Linked DNA regions of Homo sapiens: region 1 is linked to region 2. Evidence: promoter capture Hi-C in 16 types of primary human blood cells and fetal thymus (Javierre and others, 2016). All regions are on one chromosome and are shown on one strand. The core of a region is centred on a gene start or on the middle of the fragment in contact, and the rest is flanking DNA. Distances in the headings are between cores, read along the strand shown.

What was found. The method cuts DNA at HindIII sites, captures the fragments that hold promoters and counts their contacts. A CHiCAGO score of 5 or more calls a contact.
Region 1: a contact is called between the fragment with the promoter of P2RX7 here and a fragment that was not itself captured in region 2, in 4 of 17 cell types (total B cells, naive B cells, total CD8 T cells and 1 more). The highest score is 8.8, in total B cells.

Annotation. Positions count from the first base shown.
Region 1 is chr12:121,130,090-121,136,414 of GRCh38, forward strand. It overlaps P2RX7 (purinergic receptor P2X 7), which reads left to right and starts at 2,787. Exons shown (of 13, transcript NM_002562.6): 1 at 2,787-3,006. The coding sequence starts at 2,882. The region is part of intron 2 of LOC105370032 (a long non-coding RNA gene); the gene reads right to left. The HindIII fragment of the contact is 14,919 bases long and covers 1-6,325 here.
Region 2 is chr12:120,579,996-120,586,241 of GRCh38, forward strand. It overlaps POP5 (POP5 ribonuclease P/MRP subunit), which reads right to left and starts at 1,407. Exons shown (of 5, transcript NM_015918.4): 1 at 1,348-1,407; 2 at 1,120-1,262. The coding sequence starts at 1,367. RefSeq lists silencers at 4,470-4,839, 4,870-4,939. The HindIII fragment of the contact is 5,644 bases long and covers 1,434-6,246 here.

The DNA of each region.
Region 1 (6,325 bases), core at 1,537-4,036, 550 kb after region 2:
GTTTGAAGCTGCAGTGAGCCATGATTGCGCCACTGCACTCCAGCCTGGACGACAGAGCAAGACCCAGTCTCTAAAATAAATTAATTAAATTAATTTTTTAAAAAGAAAGATAAGATAAAGAGTCATAGAAGTACAAATGAGAAACCAGGAGAACATGGGACCCAGGAAAGTCATGGAAACCAAGGGAAAATACTGGTCCAAGATGCAGAAAGTAGCCAGTGATGTTGAATGCATCCAAGAGATCAAGTAACATAAGGAATAAAATATATCCACCCAGTCTGGCAACTGAGAAGTCTTTGGTAACCTCTTTGAGAACAGAATCCATGGAGTGGAGGAGGTAGCAGTGATGAAATAGCGGACAAGGGCTGAAGGAGTGGAGAGGGGAGAGCATGAGGGACCAGTGCAAGAGTGCAGCAGAAAGACAACAAACAGGCCGGGTGTAGTGGCTCACGCCTGTAATCCCAACACTTTGGTAGGCTAAGGCGGGCAGATCGCTTGTGACCAGGAGTTCGAGACCAACCTAGCCAACATGGTGAAACCCCATCTCTACTAAAAACACAAAAATCAGCTGAGCGTGCGCATGGCTGTAATTGCAGATACTCATGAGGCTGAGGCACAAGAATCGCTTGAACCCAGGAGGCAGGGGTTGCAGTGACCCAAAGTCTTGCCACTGCACTACAGCCTGGGCAACAGGGGGAGACTCCATCTCAAAAAAACAAAAAAAAAAAAAAAAAAAAAAAAAGAAAGAAAGAAAAGAGAAAGAAAGAAAGACAAGAAAATAGATGTCTTTGAGTGGTAGCAAGAGCAACACTGAAGTGATTTGCCTATTCTGGACATTTCCTATAAATGGAGTCGTAAAAGATGTATCCTTTTGTGTCTGGCCTCTTTCACTTAAGCGTAGTGTTTTCAAGGTTCATCCATGTTGGAGCATGGGTCAGTGTTTCATTCCTTTTTATGGCTGAATAATATTCCCTTGTATGGGCTTTCGTGCTTTTGTGTATCCATCCATCAGCTGATGGACATTTGACTTGTCTGCCTGTTCACTGCCATATCTACTATTCCTGGTGCTCTTGGGAATGAGTGAATGAATAGCATAAACAGAGCTGTCCAGGGTCACAGAGCTGGTAAGATGTGAAGCCAGGATCGGAAGCCAGGCCATTAGTCCCCTAGAGCCTATGTTCTAAGCATCAGGCTTTACCTGTGAATCTCCTCTTTTTACAGATGAAGATGACCGTATCACTCAGATTCCCGGCAGGAAAGCAATGGCATACTCAAGTGGGGTAACTAATGATGGAACCATTTACAAAGGTGTGGACAGAGTTAAGAAAAAGCAATAGGAGATAGTGAGCTTCCTGGGGCTGGTAAGAGTGGGGAGCCCTTACCACTCCCAGGACTAAAGGAGGGAGTGGTGCCCAGAAGCCCTGCCTATATGCAACTGAGAAGGGCAGGGCCAGGGAGTCACGTCCATCCTCACTGCTCTCCAGTCTCCTGAACTGGAAGCCAGAAGGTGAGGGGAACCCTGATGCAGTTTGTATGTGTGAGAAAGTACAATTAGTTTAGACTGAAAAACTGAAAATCTACCCGGCCACTTAGCAGGCTGGAATAACAGAAAGGGATCAAGCCAGCTGTAAAGATAACAGGGAACAATAATTCTCTGTAGCTGTAAAGTGATAATACAACCCTGCATCTTTGAGTGACTGCTGAAACATTGTCCTTTAAAATCAGAGACCTTCAGAAACTTTGCTGTTTGAAATTACATGACTAAGACTGAAATATTCCAATTTTGCCTGGAAGATTTAAGTCATCTTGACACAGAGAAGCAGCCTCAATTTACAACTCAGGAGCAGAGCTTCAGATAAAGATTTTCTGGACACATTTGACATGTATCTTAGCTATGTTGCTTCCTAGGAAACAGGGCCCTGGGTCCTCTTTGCAATCCAGACTGAAGTTGACTGCTTTGTACAAACCTGTTTTGCTTTGAGTCCATCAAAACATGACTTCATTTAGATTTTATCTCAACTCCACTTTCCTCGGAATCCTATAATAAATTGCTGTTTTCCTTTGTTTGGTGATGTGCGTAGCTCTTCTGGTGGGTGGTGTCCCTCACTGAATAGGTCAACAAACCTAACTTTGTTGGACTGCCACTGTGTCCCTGGTGATCTTTGGCTGATTGGTCTAGGTCATAGATCGACCTGCCGGGGTGCAGAGGAGGGTGGAGAGTAACTCAGAGGGTCAAGCATGAAAGATCTGGCAGAAAAATAAAGCCCCTCCACCCCCACCACCCCTACCCCTGCAAATCTGATTTCCCCCACCAACTGCAGACCAGAGTATTATAAGGGGCGGTGGAAGAAGAGGGGGAGATCTTCATTTACCCAGAGCTCCTATACATCAGGGGCTGAATAAAGGGTTGTAGAAATGAATGAATCAATCTCTGAGTGGGGCTTCAGGCAATGGAAAGATCTCAGTCCTTTTCTGAGGCATAATGGAAGCTCCCAGTCTTGTGACATTTGCAAGGCTGCCCCTTTCTCCCAAGAGACATGAGACCAAAAAAGTGAAAGGAAAGGGGGGAAAAGGGAGAATTCTAAAAATGCCCATCCTCTGAACACCATCTTTGTGTAGGCATCTGGGGGAGGCCAGCTGGGGTGAGGTCATCTGCCAGCCAGGCCCGTAGGACTTGGCGCTTCTTGTTTATCACAGCCACATGTGGGGCCACTGCCAGGGCCCGCCCCAACTCTGCAGTCATTGGAGGAGCTTGAAGTTAAAGACTCCTGCTAAAAACCAGTACGTTTCATTTTGCAGTTACTGGGAGGGGGCTTGCTGTGGCCCTGTCAGGAAGAGTAGAGCTCTGGTCCAGCTCCGCGCAGGGAGGGAGGCTGTCACCATGCCGGCCTGCTGCAGCTGCAGTGATGTTTTCCAGTATGAGACGAACAAAGTCACTCGGATCCAGAGCATGAATTATGGCACCATTAAGTGGTTCTTCCACGTGATCATCTTTTCCTACGTTTGGTAAGTGGGATCTGGGGAGGACCCAGATCTCTGCAGTGGCCGACAGCACAGAAAGCCCCAGCGGGCAGCTTCAGGTGCACATTCTGAATCTCACATGGTTTTCGAATCTGAGACGTGCTCTCACAGCCAGCTGGGCGGGAGGGAGGAAGCAGCAGCAGGCAAGAGGAAACGGTGCCAGGCTGCAGCAGAGAGAAGCCACAGGACAAGCGGGATTCCTTTCTGCTCTACTTCAGGCCCGCCAGGGCGCGCAGGGCAGGGCGTGCCTGGGGAAGGTAGGAAAGCGCAGGGCAACACCCTGGATCCCCAGGGAGGAGGCGAGGATCTCAGGGCACGCCTGGTGATCATGCTGGCATCTGAGTCACCATGCTTGGGAGGAATAGGACCAGGCTTGAAAATGTGTTATAACTTTAGGTCCTCACCAACGTCAGGAAGGCCCTGCTTTTTGGTTTTTGTTTCTTCTAAAAGAAACTTACTGAGATATAATTTATACACCATACAATTGACCCATTTAAAGGGTACCATTTAATGATTTTCAGATTATTCCCAGAGTTGTGCAACCATCCCCACAATCAATTTTAGAATATTTTAATCGACTCAAAAGGAATCCCACACTCCTTCACCATCATTTCCAACACTGTTCCTCCTCCTTCCCACCCATCAATTTCCTTTCTGCCTCTATGGATTTGCCGATTCTGGACATTTCATATAAATGGAATCACATAATATGTGGTCCTTTGTGGCACTTAGCGTGTTTTCAATGCTCATCCATGTTGTAGCATGTGTTGATACTTCATTCAATTTTTTTTTTTAAAGAGACGGGGTCTCACTATTTTGTCCAGGCTGGTCTCAAACTCCTGGACTCAAGTGATCTGCCTGCCTCGGCCTCCCAAAGTGTCAGGATTACAGGCGTGAGCCATTGCACCCGGCTGATACTTCATTCCTTTTTACGGCTGAGTAGTACTCCATTGCATGGATAGACCACTTTTTTCTATCCATTCATCCATTGATGGACATTGGGGTTGTTTCTCTTTTTTGGCTATCATGAATAATGCCACATGAACATTTGTGTACAAGGTTTTATGTGGATATATATTCTCCTTTCTCTCGAATATGTACCTAAGAGTAAAAATTGCTAGGTCATATGTTAACTATGTTTCACCTTTGGGGGGAATGTGGAGCTGAATTTCACAGCAGCTGCAGTTTTTTACATTCCTATCAGCAGAGTATGAGGGATCCAATTTCTCCACATCCTCACCAACGCTTGTTATCGTCTGTCTTTTTGGGTTTTGTTGTTGTCATTTTGTTTTTGTCTTTGAGATGAAGTCTTGCTCTGTTGCCCAGGCTGGAGTGCAGTGGCGCAATCTTGGCTCACTGCAACCTCCACCTCCCCGGTTCAAGCGATTCTCCTGCCTCAGCCTCATGAGTAGCTGGGATTACAGGTGTGCGTCACCACTCCTCACTAATTTTTGTATTTTTAGTAGAGATGAGGTTTCGCCATGTAGGCCAGGCTGGTCTCAAACTCCTGACCTCAAGTGATCCGCCCACCTTGGCCTCCCAAAGTGCTGGGATTACAGGCATGAGCCGCCACGCCCGGCTGATTGTCTGTCTTTTTTATTATAGCCATGCTAGTGGGTGTGAAGTGGTAGTTCATTGTGGTTGTGATTTGAATTTCCCTGATGGTGAGTGCCTCTTATTCTCTGTGCTGATTGATAATGATGATGAAGGCAATTTGTATCTATAGAGTGGCAGTGTAGTTTACTAAGAGTTAGGGTAACTTATTTCATAGTACTGGCTATGTCTTCTGGGCCAAGTCATTAACTTCTCTGAGCCTCAGTTTCTGCATCTGTTCATAGGGTTGTGGCAATTAACCAAAAAAAAAAGGCATGAACAGCCCTTATCATGATGACTGACATAGGATAAGAGCTCCATAACTAGTATCTATTTTTAAAAATAATCTTTTTAAGTCTGGGAGTGGTGGCTCACACCTGTAATCCCAACACTTTGGGAGGCCAAGGCGGGTGGATCACGAAGTCAGGAGTTTGAGACCAGCCTGGCCAATATGGTGAAACCCCATCTCTACTAAAAATACAAAAATTAGTGGGGAGTGGTGGTGCACACCTGTAATCCCAGCTACTAGGGAGGCTGAGGCAGGAGAATCGCTTGAACCCGGAGGCGGAGGTTGCAGTGAGCCAAGATCAAGCCACTGCACTCCAGCCTGGGTGACAGAGCAAGACTCCATCTCAAAATAATAATAATAGTAATAATTTTTTTGATTATATAATAGTATATATGTATATAAAATACATGTATGTATTTTTATCTATATCCTCTGCTCTGACCCTCAAAGTAACCACGTCCAAGTTCAGGATTTGAAATCTGGAAACGTGGATTCAAAAATCCTTCACCTCTTTGAGCCTTGGTTTCATCATCTGTAAAATGGGGAGAATTGTTGATAGGAATATTAAATGAACTAATAAATGCAAAGCTGTTTGAGAAATATATGGCATATAGTAATCCCTGATTAAGTGTTAGTTCTTATTATTAATAATGCTATTATTAGGATTATTATTATTCGATTCATATGTTTACTGTTCAACAAATATTGAATGATAAACATATATGCTGGGTCCGGCATGGTGGCCCATGCCTGTAATTCCAGCACTTTGGGAGGCCAAGGCGGGCAGGTCACTTGAGGTCAAGAGTTTGAGACCAGCCTGGCCAACGTGGTGGAAACTCCATCTGTGCTAAAAATACAAAAATTAGCCGGGCATGGTGGTGGGTGCCTGTAATCCCAGCTACTCGGGAGGCTGAGACAGGAGAATCACTTGAACCCAGGAGGTGGAGGTTGCAGTGAGCCAAGATTGCACCACTGCACTCCAGCCTGAGCCACAGAGCAAGACTCTGTCTCAAAAAAAAAAAAAAAAAAAAATATATATATATATATATAGTATTTTTAGTAGAGATGGGGTTTTGCCATCTCTTATATATTTTTATATATTTATATTTTTTATATATTTATATATATTTATATGTATTTTATATATTTATATATATGTGCTGAAATCTAAAATAAGACATATCACTTAAACCAGCTATCATAGGACCAATGGTAAAGAGCATAATTAGTAAATGCCCCCTTCTGCATTAATACGTAGATTGTATGTCACAATTTCATGTAGCAGGTGATGGGACTTCCTGACATTCTTGGGCCCAGCATACAATCTTTTTATTTCTTTTTTAGAGACAGGGTCTCATTGTGTTGCCCTAGGCTGGAGTGCAGTGTCATTATCACAGCTCGCCACAGCCTCAACTTCTCAGG
Region 2 (6,246 bases), core at 3,006-5,505:
CTTTGGGAGGCTGAGGCGGGCAGATCACTTTAAGTCAGGAGTTCGAGGCCAGCCTGGCCAACATGATGAAACCCCGTCTCTACTAAAAATACAAAAATTAGCTGGGTGTGGTGGTGCGCACCTGTAATTCCAGCCACTCAGGAGGCTGAGGCATGAGAATCGCCTGAACCCAGGAGGCAGAGGCAGCAATGACCCCCGATCTCGCTGCTGCACTCCAGCAGCCTGGGCAACAGCCAGACTGTCTCGAAAAAAGGAAAACTTTGGAGTAACAGAGCCTACTATGTGCCAAAAGTATGTTGTAGGCAAGTGGCACGTAGATCTATCAGCGAGTAAAAGAGAAAAGCCAAAACACCCACTGTGTTGCACACCACTCAGAACTGGTGAATGAATTTAGAATTGAAAATGCTTTCTAATTCACTAGTTAATTCAATAAATAGGAGCAGGTAGGAGGCGATCCGTTTTAATTTAGGAAAAACCCCCACAAAACCCTTGCCTGAAAAACAGGCTGTTTTACTGCATTTGGGCTCCGTAATTATTGTAGCAGTCAGCTCTCAGTCTCACCTGACTTAGGAGAGTTAAGTCTATCTGCATTTAACTCTCCAGAAGTCAATCTCAAACAAGGTTAAAGTGGGAACTAATTTAAGTGGTGTGAAAGAAGGGCCCCTCTGTCCTAGCTCATCCTGTATTTACATATATTGACAATCATGTGTTCTGTACTTTACCAACTATTTAAGGGCTTTCCCGGAGTACTTTTGACAATTTTTTTCCATATGATGTTAATGTAATCGGTCATATAATAGCTCTTACTAGGAAGTATACACAGCTTCCCTCATTTAATTCTCTACCCTATCAAATTCAATCACAACCAATTACAGAAATTACCTGTCAAGCAGGTAAAAAGAGGCTTCTAGCTCAAAGCCCCACTGCCTTCGGGCCCCTCCTTTTAGCGCTCTGCTAATTTCGGACTCTCGCTTGGGGTCCCAGGCGCTTAAAGAGATACCTTACAAAAAACGGTGCACGGGCTTGGCCACTCGTGCCCCTTCTTTCTTCCTCCGGCGCCTGCCCCCTCCACATCCCGCCATCCTCCCGGGTTCCCCTCTTCCCCCAGCGCCCTTGCACCCGCGAAGCCGATGGAGCAGGCGGCTGCGCCGAAAGTTCCGTGCACCCTGGCGATCGTGTCCCGTACGAGGCTGCTCAGAACTCGGTCATCGAGGCTTAGGCGGCAGCGGGGGTCGTCAGACACCAGTTCGCAGAGCAGGTACCTGCGGCAGGCGAGAGGAAGGTGGACACTAGCGGGGCCGCGAGGACCCAGCAAGGCACTGGGAGGGTCTGGAAGGGAATGCTTACCTGTGCTTGAACCGCACCATGGCTGCCTCCGCGCTCTCCGGTCCGGCGTGCAAACCGGATGTGAATTCTGTCCGCTGCCAATGGGAAGCTTGCTTCCGCAGCCTTTCAGCCATTCAGAGAAGGAGACAGGATATTAGGGCGGAGCTAGAAAGTTGAGAGGCCGAAGTCTGTCAGCTCTCTCAAGCCCCGCCCAACTGCGTTTGTAAGCGCGCATGCGTCCTGCGGAGGGTCACTGACTAGTTTGAGGGCTGAACCCCGGGATGGAGCGCCTTGCAGCTGTAATGGATGGTTCTGTTGCACACTGAAGTTTACAATAGTGTGTAGGATGTAGCCGCTACCCTTGGGGCCCTGGGAACCTTGCACCACAGTTATGTATGCGAGTATATTCTCTCCCCAAGGTGAACGGTGGAGCTTTTGAGGGCAAGACCCTGCACCTCACAGCCCAGGCATTGACAAACGGGAAATCGGACTTTTATTTTCAGGTTTGAGCTCAGTTTAATTCTTCCATACAGCTAAATATGCTATTGCTGTTTGGGCCTTTCAGCAATCTTAGGGAGGCGAGTGTGCCGTCTCGTTTTTTGCTCGCAGAAACAATACGTGGTCATTGTATTTTCCATTTCCGTTTACCTTTTTTTTTTGACAGAAAAGCACAAAGAAGCAAATAAATTATAATCCCAGCACTGAGAGAGAATAACTGTTGTCGTGTAGTGTGTTTTCTTCTGTCATTTTCTCCCTGCGCCAGTGGTTCTCAAAGTGCCGTCTGGGGACCACTGAGATTTCCTAAATTCACTCGATTTGGGAGTCCCCGAAGTCAAAATTACTTTCATAATAATGCTAAGATGTTACTTGTCTTTTTCATTCTCTCTGAGTGAACAGTCAAGTTTTCCAGAGGCTGCTTGACGTGATGACGTCACTGCTCTAGGAATTGTGTATTGTTTTTTAAACGTTTCTCAACTTTAATGTCCATAGTAAATATAACCCACAAAACTAAAAGCTCTTGGGCACCCTCAGTAACGTGTGTAAAGGGGTCCTGAGACAGAGAAAACAGCTTGAGAACTATGCCCTCTGTTAAATTATGTTTTTTCTTTTATTTTTAAGTATTTTAAAAAAAATGTCTTATGGGGTATTACATAAAGTACATATTCTTAAGTGTATTCATCTCAATGAATTTTTACATATGGATAGACTTCTATAACCACCTCCAAGATTAAAATAAAGAGCATTTCCAGTATCCCAGAAGGTTCCCTGAGCCCTCTTCCAGTCAAATTGCTTACTGCTATCAGCCACTATTACCACTTCTACCCTGCTAGATTAATTTTGCCTGTTCTTAAACTTTATATAAATGCAGCCAGGAGGCTGGCTGCAACCTCTGCCTCCTGAGTTCAAGCGATTCTCCTGCCTCAGCCTCCCGAGTAGCTGGGATTACAGGCACCTGCCACCACGACCAGCTAATTTTTGTATTTATTTATTTAGTTTTTTGAGACGGAGTCTCACTCTGTTGCCCAAGCTGGAGCACGATCTCAGCTCACTGCAACCTCTGCCTCCTGGATTCAGGCGATTCTCCTGCCTCAGCCTCCCAAGTAGCTGGGACTACAGGTGTGTGCCACCACAACTGGCTAATTTTTGTATTTTTAGTAGGGACAGGGTTTCCCCATGTTGGCCAGGCTGGTCTTGAACTCCTGACCTCAGGTGATCCACCCACCTCGGCCTCCCAAAGTGCTGGGATTACAGGCGTGAGCTACCACGCCTGGCCATTTGGCTATATTTTCATGTCAGCTCTTCAGCGACAATACTGTTTTTTAGCTGTGCAGTATTGCATTGTTTGGACGTACCATTGTGAAGTTGGTCAGTATCCCTTTGGTAGACGTTTACATTATTTCTAGATTTTCTTGTTATACCCAATACTTTGATGCATGGCTTTGTAGCTTAGTCTTTATGCCCATCCCTGATTATTTGTAGAAGTGTCTTGGCCTTGGCTGGTCCTGTGAGGTCCGTAATGGGGGCAGCTTTCACAACCTATTTTTGCAAGATCTGGAATGAGTTCTGAATTTTCCCATCTCCCACTCTTCTTGGCCACCTTAAAGGAGGGATGTGGGGGAAGGTAGGGAAGAAAAGAATAGGAAGAGGGAACGCCGTGGCCCTGCCAAGGGACCAGTGACAGTGACGGCACTCCCCACCCAAGAACAACTTTTCACCAGAAAGTGTCTGCGACATCCTCCTTTGGCCAACAGGGGGCGCCAGAGGTCCGCAGTGCGCGGAGAGAGCAAGACACCCCCAACTCCTGAGCGCTCCACCCCTCATAGAAATTTCACTCCTCCCAGCCTTCATTTCAACAGCAATGCTTCGCCCATTTTATAGATGCAGTTGGGGCTCAGACCAAAGCCTCGTATCCAGTTAGGAGCAGGATCAGAATTCGAACCCAAAGCCAGCTGACTCCTTGTTCTGGTCAACACGGTTGGTGCTCTCCCGTGCAGGATTTCACTCGTCCATTTAGTGTAATAAGATGGAGAGACGACAGATGGAGGTTCGATTCGCTACTCCGTCATTTACTGGCCCGGCCAGGTGCTGTCAGGAGGGTTAATTCATGTCTCAGATCTTAGTTTCCTCATCTGTGCAATGGGATAACAATGGTTCCTCCCTCGTGGGTGGATATGAAGTTTAAGCGGGGTCATGTGGACAAAATGCCTGGCACAGCGAGTGCATAGTAAGCCCTTTTTTTGTTTTTGTTTTTTTTGTTTTGTTTGTTTTTTGAGACTGATTTTTAAGACTGTCTTAAAAACAAGAAAAGAAAAAAGAAAATATAGCCAAACAACAGGAATTTTTTGAGACAGTTTTTTGCTCTGTCGCCCAGGCTGGAGTGCAGTGACGCCATGTCGGCTCACTGCAGCCTCTGCCTCCCGGGTTCAAGCAATTCTCCTGCCTCAGCCTCCAGAGTAGCTGGGATTAAGGCGCCTGCCACGACGCCCGGCTAATTTTGTATTTTTAGTAGAGATTTCACCATGTTGGACAGGCTGGTCTCAAACTCCTGACTTCAAGTGATCCGCCCGCCTCGGCCTCCCAAAGTGTTGGGATTACAGGCGTGTGCCACCGCCCTCGGCAAGTAAACGCTGTTCTGAACAAATGATTTACTTTTCCCCCACAGGCACAGCCCCGGGAGGAAGCACATTGGCACGGCCCGCGGCCTCCCAGTCTTGGACCAGGCCCGGCCCCTTCTGGCCCAGGAGGGTGCAGACGCCGGCGGTGGCCGGGCGGGCGGGCTCCCCGCGGTAATTAGCGCGCGCCGGCTCGGGCTGCGCCAGCCGCTAATTATAAGTCTCCTAATGAGGCCGGCGGCTGTTTGCAATCACCCGGGTCCCCGCTGCGCGGCGCGGGAGGCTGCGGGGGAATCCGCCCGCGGAGGCATGGAGGAGGAGCGGCCGTCTTCCCCGGGGCCCGGAGATCCGCTGGACGGCGACGGGGTGTGCCCCGGCCGTGCCCGCCGCCGGAATGCCGGCCGCGAAGGGGCAGCGGCGGGGGCTCACACCCCAACCCCTCCTCGGTTCTCTCCCCAGCCGGGCCGCAGAGCCATTATCCTCCCCAGGTGAGGAAGCCGATGAGGCTCTGAGAGGTGAGCTCACCCAGGTGCGACATCACAACTCACCCAGGTGCACAATAGAGCCCAATCCACGTCTGTCTGACCCCAGCCTGTGCCCTTAGCCGAGTCAGGTATCCCCTGGATCAATGGGGTGGTCACTGTTGTCATTACTGTTAGCATTATTACAGTCGTCCTGGGACTTCTCAGATTCCTTTTTTTTTTTTTTTTTTTTTTTTTGAGATGGAGTCTCCCTCTGCCGCCTAGGCTGGAGTGCAGTGGCGCGATCTCAGCTCACTGCAACCTCTGCCTCCCGGGTTCAAGCGATTCTTCTGGCTCAGCCTCCCCAGTAGCTGGGACTACGGGCACGTGCCACCTCGCCTGGCTAATTTTTTATATTTTTAGTAGAGACAGGGTTTTACCGTGTTAGCCAGGATGCTCTCCATCTCCTGACCTCGTGATCCACCCACCTTGGCCTCCCAAAGTGCTAGGATTACAGGCGTGAGCCACCGCGACCGGCCTTTTTTTTTTTTTTTTCTGAGACAGGATCTCACTCTGTCCCACAGGCTTGAGGGCAGTAGCTCCATCTTGGCTCACCGCAACCTCTGCCTCCTAGGTTCAAGCGATTCTCCTGCCTCAGCCTCCTGAGTAGCTGGGACTACAGGTGCCCACCACTATACCTGGCTATTTTTTGTATTTTTAGCAGAGATGGGGTTTTGCCATGTTGGCCGGGCTGGTCTCGAACTCCTGGCCTCATGTGATCTGCCTGTCTGGGCCTCCCAAAGTGCTGGGATTACAGGTGTGAGCCACCGTGTCCAGCCGGGATCACTGTCTTTATTCTTCATCCGTGTCTCCTGGGTGATCATTAATTGGGCTCTCCCAGTGTGCTGGCCACTGTCTTTTCTGGGTTTGATTGATTGAGTCCTCACATCAGCCTCATGAAGTTAGGACCCATTATCCTCTGAGACACAGGGAGGAAAATGGCTTGCCCAAGTTGACACAGTAAATTTGGGTGGACATCTGTCTTACCCTAAAACCTGTGCTCTTAACCCCTTGCTCTCTACTCTGTATTCGGGGACCTAGAAAGATGCTGAGGAAGGAGAGCGCAACTGGGGTACCATTCTGAGGTGACTTTGGCATCCGAGGGGTTTCTGTCAGAGCCCAGATGCTGCTGTTGTGGATGGTGGCAAAGGGAAACTGTATCTGCTCCAGCATTTTATTAAGCAGCCACTGCTCGTAAGAGGCTCCTACTCCTCGAATCTTAACCAATTTTCTGTAAAACCCTTATGGGGACAATCTAGATGAAATTAAACCCTCCATCTGCTTAG